Linked DNA regions of Homo sapiens: region 2 is linked to region 1. Evidence: promoter capture Hi-C in 16 types of primary human blood cells and fetal thymus (Javierre and others, 2016). All regions are on one chromosome and are shown on one strand. Each heading gives the region's core, a stretch centred on a gene start or on the middle of the fragment in contact. The rest is flanking DNA. Distances are from core to core; before and after follow the strand shown. Region 1 holds the start of PDE4B (phosphodiesterase 4B). Region 2 has its middle 89 kb from the start of SGIP1.

Evidence for each region. Contacts are between HindIII fragments. The CHiCAGO score rates a contact against its expected background, and 5 or more counts as called.
Region 2: a contact is called between a fragment that was not itself captured here and the fragment with the promoter of PDE4B in region 1, in 1 of 17 cell types (monocytes). The highest score is 5.1, in monocytes.

What each region holds. Positions count from the first base shown.
Region 1 is chr1:65,790,605-65,795,121 of GRCh38, forward strand. PDE4B (phosphodiesterase 4B) reads left to right here and starts at 2,291. Exons shown (of 17, transcript NM_002600.4): 1 at 2,291-2,644. The HindIII fragment of the contact is 11,219 bases long and covers 1-4,517 here.
Region 2 is chr1:66,442,637-66,447,153 of GRCh38, forward strand. No RefSeq gene overlaps it. Among named protein-coding and RNA genes, the nearest start is that of SGIP1, 89 kb to the right of the region's middle. RefSeq lists enhancers at 3,945-3,994, 4,005-4,054. The HindIII fragment of the contact is 3,284 bases long and covers 530-3,813 here.

The sequences.
Region 1 (4,517 bases), core at 1,041-3,540:
GCCCAAACTCAGCTGCTTTTGGTAACCTTTAGAAGCGCTTTGGGGTTTGTAGGTAAAATCTATATAAATTTGTTGAAAATGGTGTTTGACAGTTTTTTTCCATTCTCTTTGTTAGTTTATGTAATTTTTAGAAAGAGATGAGAAAGATGCTTAAAAAGCTGACATCATTTTCTACTGGAATCCGTATATAATTCTTTTTGCAGTAAGAACTCTTTGGACACATTTTTCTGAAGATGATGTAATAACCTTGGGAGGCTTAGTAATTATTAATACCTTTCAAATTTCTCATATTCAAAAAGGGGCAGCATGATGCTCAAATTGGTTCTTTTTTTCCCCTAGATTGAACTACAATTTAGATTCCTTACACTCTCTTTAGGCAATGGTTGCCTTATATTTAATACATCTAACTAATCCTAACTGTAGTTCAGAAAAAGAGATTCCATTATCATCATTTTACAGATGAAAACTGTGAGAACAATGACTACATTGCGGATTTTGTTGGCTTCCTTTCAGGTGCTTATTGCCTCACTATTATTAATTTTGGCTTTGGGCTCAATTTCAAGGTTATGGATGAGGTAGATGGTATAGTGTAAGCAACAGGTCCAAAAAGGCAGAATAACCAGCGAACACTTGGTAGCATCTCAGATGTGGGGAAATAGGTGTTTTATACTCCAAACGCTAGTGTTTGAATATGTTTCCTCCAAAACCATGAAGGGGAAAGTTCATTAAGTTCCTACACTGATAAGCTCTTAGACATGCCTTTCAATGTACAGGCATGTAAAGCTATTTTGGGTGAATGGGTGAATAGTAGGTTATTAGGTTATTGCCCTTCTTTGGGAGGTCCCTATTTGTCCTTTAATACACAGTTCAGATGGGATTTAAATTCCCTGACCTGTTCCTTCTCTTACATAGAAAAAATTGCTTCCACTTATGCAATTGGCATGTGCTTCTGTTGTGAAATACTTGTGTTGTTTGTCTCGGGCTTTCATAGTTGGTTCTCCTATTAGGCAGTGAGCTCCTTGGGTGCAGAGACTATGTCCTAATCGACTCTGCATCCTTAGCTTCTGCAAAGTGCTCAGTGCACAGTAGGTGTGCATGATGTTTATTGGAATAAATCGAGAAACAGGCGAATGTTGTCTATTAAAGTCATTTTGGTCTCTAGCTACTGTAGTAGTTGGATAGGCAAAGTTACTTCATGCCTATCTTCCTCCTCTTTTCCTTGCCAGCTTCCTTCTTTTTTTCTCTGACTGAAAGGGCTGGACAACCGGGGAAAAGGAAACTTGTGCTTTCCAGCATACCTCTCCCACTCTACACACACACACACACACACTCTCTCTCTCTCTCTCTCTCTCTCTCTCTCGCTCTCGCTCTCGCTCTCTCTCCATCCTGTTGCATTTTTAAAGCAGGCTCAGTCAGGTTACTGAGTGCCTGTTGCTCCATCACACGAATTCCCAAGTTGTGGGACTCACCTTCAGGGGTGTCTTGGTGGAGCACCTCTTGGGAGGTGATCTGACCTGTTGGTTCAGGAGCACTGCGCGTATTCACTCTGGCGCTCCTTTGTGCAACAGGAGACCAGAGGACTCCCACGGTCCCACTGGCTCCTTCCACGTAATGTGCCCCGCTGGCTCTCTCGCCTCCCCCAACCCGGGGGTCTGCGTCCCCTGCGCCCCAGTCCCTCTTTGTGCAGCCAGTAGCTGCAGAGCTCTTCGTCTTGTATTCATGGCAGATGCACAGCGAGTGACTGACACGTTCCAGGGACGGCGAATGGGAAAGAGCGCGGGCGGCCGGGGGAGGGTGTGTAGTGGCAGACGGCCGCTGGGATTATGAATGGGGGCTGGGGGGCCGGCGAGTGTGGGGTTCAAACCAGGATTTTCGGTCTCTGGCTTTGGATAGGCACGCAGGGCTGTGCGTAATCCTTCAGCTCTGGTGGTAAGGGAGATGCAGTGAGCTCCCGGCTGGGAGAGAGGGTTATTTTGCAAAACTCCCCTGGTACCGTGCCCGCGGAATATTGCAGGAGGTCTGTGAGGTAGGTGGGGGAAAAAATAACCTGGGAGGGCAATCAGGGAGAGGCCAGACGACTGGGGACGGCGTGCTTTGCACCCTAGAATTGACAGGTGGTGGCCTCAGCAGTTACAACCTACTACACAGCATCTCGTCCGTGCGATACGGTCACATTGTTATTCCCCGCACCCGGCTGAGGAGCGCAGCGCGGCAGACCAAGTGGCACCGGCGAGCTGTCTCTCTTCCGGGGGGCGGGGGTGGACAGTAGGGAGAGGGGGTTTAAAGGGCCAGAGGACGAGAGAAGAGCTGAGGGGCGCGTCGCCAGCGCCTGTGTCTCCCTGGCGCGGGTTCCCCAGGCTAGCCCGCTGGCCCGTCCGCGCGCGCGCCCCCGGCCCGCGCGCCCCTTCCCGGGGCTCCTGGCCTCGCCTCAGCGGCTGCAGGCTCTTCGTCGCGGGCCGGGCTGCACGCGAGCGCCCTCCGGGCAGACTTTCGTCCCCCACCCCCGGGAGCGCGGAAGGCTCACTCGCAGCGCATGGTCTACCCGCGCCGGGCGGAGCCCCGGCGTCCAGAGCGCTGCGGCCGCGGCGGTGCAGCAGAGGCGCCTCGGGCAGGAGGAGGGCGGCTTCTGCGAGGGCAGCCTGAGGTAAGGGCTGCCTAGGAGGCTGCGGGTTTATTTTTCCTCATTCTCTTACTTCATCACACACTGAAGCCTCAATGGAGAGTGTAGGGTGCTGTGGGGCTGATGTGGGGCAAAGAGGGAATGGGGCCGCCGGGCCTGGATGGTCGTCTTGACGGCGTCATTGTCGCCCCTTGTAGGAAATCCGCCAACCGGCCCCTAGCCTTTCGCCCTCATCTTCTCTGCTTCGGCTTCCGCCCTTGGACCTCTTGACAAGTCACTGGGGAGGAGAGGATGGAGAGAGGCTAAGGGAGAATGGAGAGAGGCAGAAGGATTCAGGGCTTGGAAGCCCTGGAGTAGGTGACGGATGGGCGCGCGGTGCCCAGTGATTGACTGCAGGCAGCGGGCGCGGAAGGGAACCTGAACTACCCAAGAGTTTGCTGGGCTGAGGCTCCAGGATGCTCCTGCGTGCCCTGGTGGCTGGGGCACCAAGGAGGGGCGCACTCAAGCCTCGGCATCACCAAGGCTCTGCCAGGAACTTTTGGGAAGATTTGTCTGGTGTTTGGTGAGGGGGCTTGGACCTTTCTAGCTACAAGAGTGTGTTGGGGAAGGAAGAGGCTCTCCTCCTTTCTCCTGTCACTTTCCTTCATGCCTACTCTCTTCTTCCATCTTCCTGTTTTGCCTCCTTCCTTCCCGTTTTTCACAGGCCACCTTCCTTGTGCGGTACTTCAAACACAAATCGGAACCCACTATGGCCAACAGCTTTAAAGCGTGTATAAGGAGGAGCGCACAGAAGAATCGCTCTTAATTACAGTAGTTATATATGTGTGTGTGTGTGTCTGTGTGTGTCACACACGTGCCTGGGATAATTTTTAGCAAGACTTTGAGACGGTCACCTAAAATTACATTGTACTTACATTAGGTTTACATCATAATTATATGATGCCACTGAACAGAAATGGTAACTCTATGCATTCTGCATCTTAGATCTGAGATATAACTGTTCTTTGAATCACATGCATCGTTTAATTTCAAAGATTTCCAGCTGCTGGAAAACTCTTGGCTAAGTTATAAGAATGAAAGGCACATTAAGCATAAAAAAAGTAATAAATGTCCAGATACTATTTTTATTAGTAGATCATACTCCCCCTCCGTTTCCTTTTGCCAAAAGCTGTTATTATACCAATTATATTCATAAAAACGAAACAAATTTGGAGATTTCAGTGTTTTTACCTACAACCTGAAGTGTAGGTAGGGGTCTAGAATTTATCTGTACATGAATTCACAAGAAGATAGATAAGGCCAATGATTTCACTGCAGGTAAAGGAAGTTGAGCTTCTTCTCTCTCAGGATACCTCATTTCTTGGTATCCCAAGAGAGAAATCCCCTTAATGTCAATAAATATAGCATTGGTCTCTTCAGCTCTTCAAATCAATACTTGTAGGACTTGACTGTAATATGTTTGCTGGCTGTTTCTATTCTTTTTCATTTTCTAAACAACAACGTGCCAATTTTGTTAATTTACAAAAAATAAGTAAGATTGTTAAATGGACTGGAATTTATGAGATGGCATGATCGATGCATTGAGGCTGTTTATCTATATATCTATCATCTTTCTATTTTTCTTGTTACAGTTGGGAGCTAAACAATGTTGCAGTGTGTCTACTTGTATTTTTATCAGCTGATTTGCTTTTCAGTTTCTTTATGGCTTGACATATTTTGCAAAAATGAATTGTCTTAAATTTCTCTAGAGAGTAACCTGTTAGACATACTGTTTGCTTTCAAAATAGGACTGTTTTTTGATTTGAGGAATAAGAAATCAATCATACATGGTTTTCTGATCTTGGAGTCCTTTGCCTGTCTAGAGACAGGTATTTAAGTATTTAACAGTAATAGTTAC
Region 2 (4,517 bases), core at 922-3,421, 650 kb after region 1:
TGACACTTTTGCTTTCTGATGGCTCAATGTACACAAACTTTGTTTCATGCATAAAATTATTAAAAATATTGTATAAAATTGCCATTAAGCTGTATGTATGAGACACATAAGACATAAATGAATTTCATGTTTAGACTTGGGGCCCACCCTCAAGATATCTCATTATATATGTCCAAATATTCCAAGAGCTGAAAAATCTCACAGAAACACTTCTGGTCCCAAGCATTTTGGATAAGGAATACTCAATCTCTATATATAATCAAGTATTCTATCATTGCAAAACATATTCTGTGAGCCTGTAGATTGTCTTTTTATTCTCTTTGGAGTGTTTTTTAAGGAGTACAAATTTTAAATTTTGATGAAGTCCAAATTTTTAATTTTTTTTCTTTGGTGAATTGTGTTTTTGATGTCATATCTAAGAAGGTTTTGCCTAACCCAAAGTCACAAAAGTTTCCTATGTTCTAGAGGTTTCACAGCTTTAGGTTTTAAATTTAAATTCATTTTTGTTTATTGTACAAATTATGAATCAAGCTTCATTTTTTGCATACAACTATTCATTTTTTCCAGCACTATTTGCTGAAAAGATCATCCTTTCTCCATAGAATTTCCTTTGTACCTTCACTAGAAATCAGTTGTCTCTCTCTCTATATATATATATGTGTGTGTGTGTGTGTGTGTGTGTGTGTGTGTGTGTGTGTGTGTGTGTAGTTTATTTCTGGACCCTCTATTCTGATCCACTGATTTACTTGCCTATCTTAACACCAATACCATATACTGTTTTGATGACTGTAACTTTATAAGTCATTTTTTTAACTTTTAAGTTCAGGGATACATGTGGAAGTTTGTTACATAGGTACACTCATGTCAGAGGGGTTTGTTGTATAGATTATTTCACCACCCAGGTGTTAAGTCTAATACCCATTAGTTGTTTTTCCTGCTCCTCTCCCTTGCCCCACTTTCTACCCTTAGGTAGGCTCCAGTGTGTATTGTTCCCCTCTATGTGTCCATGCGCTCTCCTCATTTAGCTCCCACTTATAAGTGAGAACATGAGGTATTTGGTTTTCTGTTCCTGAGTTAGTTTGCTAAGGTTGATGACTTCCAGCTCCATCCATGTTCCTGCAAAGGACATGATCTCATTCTTCTTATGTCTGCATAGTATTCCATGGTGTGTACGTAGCACATTTTCTTTATCTAGTCTACTATTCATGGGCTTTTGCATTGGTTCCATGTCTTTGCTGTATAATGTCTTGAAATCATGTAAGGCTACTCCTCCAACTTTGCTCTTCTAATTTTGTTTATTTTTGAGACAGGGCCTCCCTCTATTGCCCAGACTGGAGTGAAGTAACATGATCATGGCTCACTGCAGCCTTGACCTCCCAGGCTCAAGTTTGCTCTTCTTTTTCAAAGTTGTTTTGGCTATTCCAAGTCATTTGCACTTCCATTTGAATTCTATAATCAAATTATTAATTTTCACAAAGCCCTGCTCTGGAAGTCCATCAGGCTCCTCTTGTGTTCCTCCTCCCTGGTCACACCTGGACTTCCTCAAGGCAATAAGCTCTGGCAATGGCTTCAACTTGCTTGCTTCAGGTGTCACTGTCCCTCATTGCCTGATGTCTAGAAACTTCAAAAACTCTTTCACGTATTTTTTTTTCTTTTGTTGTTATTGTTGTTGTTTCAGGCAGGAGGATAAATTCAATCCCTGCTACTCCACCTTCCCTGAAAGTAGACTCGTGTTCACATTTTTCGAAGTATCCTTATATTTTAGATTAACATATTGAGTGATGTACAGATAAAATGACAAGACATCTGGAATTTGCTTTAACATACTACTGACATCTGAAAGTGTGGGGGGCCTAGATGAAACACAATTGGCTCCAAGTTGATAACTCTTCATACTGGGTGATGGGTAAAATGGAGATGAAAGAAAGAGAGAGAGAGAGAAAGAAAGGAAAGGAAGAAAGAAGGAAGGAAGGAAGGAAAGAAGGAAGGAAGGAAGGAAAGAAGGAAGGAAGGAAGGAAAGAAAGTTGGTGTGAGCTTAAAATTTTCCATAAAACAGTTTTCAACATAAAGATCTTGATACTACTGCCTAGCTCAAGGGATTGTTGTGAGGATTAAATGTGGAATTGTATGTAAATTGCCTAGAACTATGCTTAGAACTTAACGAAGAGTAGCTATTAATACTACATAATTGTATAAAACCAACTACCAAATATATATTAAAGAAGTCTGATAAAAATTTCTCCTGAAAAGAGATAACCCTTTAGCTAAGAATGAATGCAGGTCTCTGCTCACCCCCACCACCTTCCTATTCCCTCCCGTGGTGCTGTCTTTCTAATGTCACCCTGAGCTCTGGCTGCCTGGCCCAAATAAGTCAACACGTCAGCATCAGGAAAGAGGTATTTGGAGAAGGATTAGAGAGACAATTTTAAGCTCATACAAACTTTTCTTCTTTCTCTCTTTATTTCTCCCTCCCTCCCACCCTTCTCCCTTCCCTCCCCTCTCCTCCCCTTCCCTCCCCTCCCCTCCCCTCCCCTCCCCTCCCCTCCCCTCCCCTCCCCTCCCTTTCCTTTCCTTTCCTTTCCTTTCCTTTCCTTTCCTTTCCTTTCCTTTCCTTTCCTTTCCTTTCCTTTCTTTTCCTTTCCTTTTTTTTTCTGTGCATTAGTTCCTTCAGGGAGTCTCCCAAACCCACCAACACTAAATTTGGTACCTTTTCTCTGAATTTTCCTGGCACTCTGTCCCTCCTACTGTCAAAGCACTTAAATAGGGCCTGGTAGCTCTCTAGTTTGGAACCTCTCTCCCAATTCCTAAGATTTCCTTACATTTGTTTCCATATCCTTAGAGCCCAGCACATAGTAGACACTCAAAGCATGCTCGTGGAGCTGTTTAACTTCATGGTCCCACCTGTCCATCTTTGCGACCCTCTTCTCTATGTGCTTTGTTTCTTCCTCTGTGGGCTTTGTTCCTGCCTCTGTGGGCTTTGTTCCTGCCTCTGTGCACAGCCTGCTGGGGTGACGCTTTCCTGTTTGAGAGTCTTGACATTCAGTTTCTGTTTATGTACTTACTCAGGCTCATTATAAGAACTGGCTCTTTTCTTTTTCAATTAATTGCACTGCCATGAAAACTCTGTCTCTCCAACCCTTCTCCAAATACCTCTTGTTGCTGTGTTGAGTTATTTGAGCCAGGCAGCAAGAGCTCAGCAAGACAGTAGAAAGACAGAACCAGGAGAGAGAAGAGGAGGGTGCTGGAGATGAACAGAGACTGCAGGGGTCTCCTTTCAGGCTGGTCCAGAGCCCCACATCTCTTAGTATGCACTCAAGTAGACCAGGGTGAAAAATTCAATCATGAAAACGAAAGAACTTAGAACCACAAATGTGAGGGCTAGGAGGGGCATCAACATAACTGAACCTTTCATACTTGCTCCAATCACCAAACACACATGTGCACACACATGTGCAAATGCACGCACACACATGCACACACCTTGTCAGCTGGACTTGTCTCTGAAGTTTCCTTAGGTCATTGTGGAACAAGAGAACAATTTGAAAATCACCGGCCAAGTTGGATATTTTTAATTTGAGGAAAGGCACAGAGATGTTGAGTCTGGTATCCAAATCTCACAATTTCTGGTTTCTTTTCTTTCCATTAATTAATCTACACTGCCACCTCTGACCAAAACAACAACAACCATGCTCCATAGATGTATCTGCATTCTGGATGTCACAGCCATAGAAATCTTCCCAGTGTGAATCAAATATTAGTAGACGTGTTGCTGGAAAAATCACAGCTTTCAAGAATGAATCTGAAAGATTTCAAGCTTTTCTCAGAAAGAAAAGGCCGCGTGATATCCAGATTGAGATTATTTGAAAAGCTGAGACTGGGGAGATGAATCTTCTGCTTGGAAGGCCAGAAAACAACGAAGGCCATTTTGTGTGCCTGAGAGAGAGAGAAAGTGGTTTTACACCACCATCTAGTGGTAGAAAGCAATACTGTCGCTAAAGCTCAAAAAGGGTTCATGATTTTTTTAATTCAACCGACAAGGATTTATTCTAAAGTCTCTGATTTGTCAGAGCTTATACTAGACACTGGGGATATAGCAAATGTTAATTACAAAAATCCATATACCAATTTCAGAAATCTCTCTCCCCCTGTTATTCTTACAAGCATCTCTAGTCTGCGGTCTTCACTACCAGGTCCCTCTCACTCCTGAATCTGTAATCCAAAGTGACCCTCAGACAGCTCAGATACCAGAACATAGAGACCTCTTAAACGCCAAGCTCCTGATGTGGACATTTCTGGGGAAGGGGAGGCTTTCACAAGTTCTCCTTGAATGATAACCATTCAGTTGCTATCAGTCTGAGAATGCAAATATATGTGCTTTCTTGAGTCTTGGAGAATGAGACATCAAGATTCAGGTCATTCTCATGGAATTTTGGAGAAAGATTCTTATGATGGAATAGGACATTATATGATGTCTTGAAAAGGACAGCCTATGATGTTCAGGGCTCAAAAAGTATCT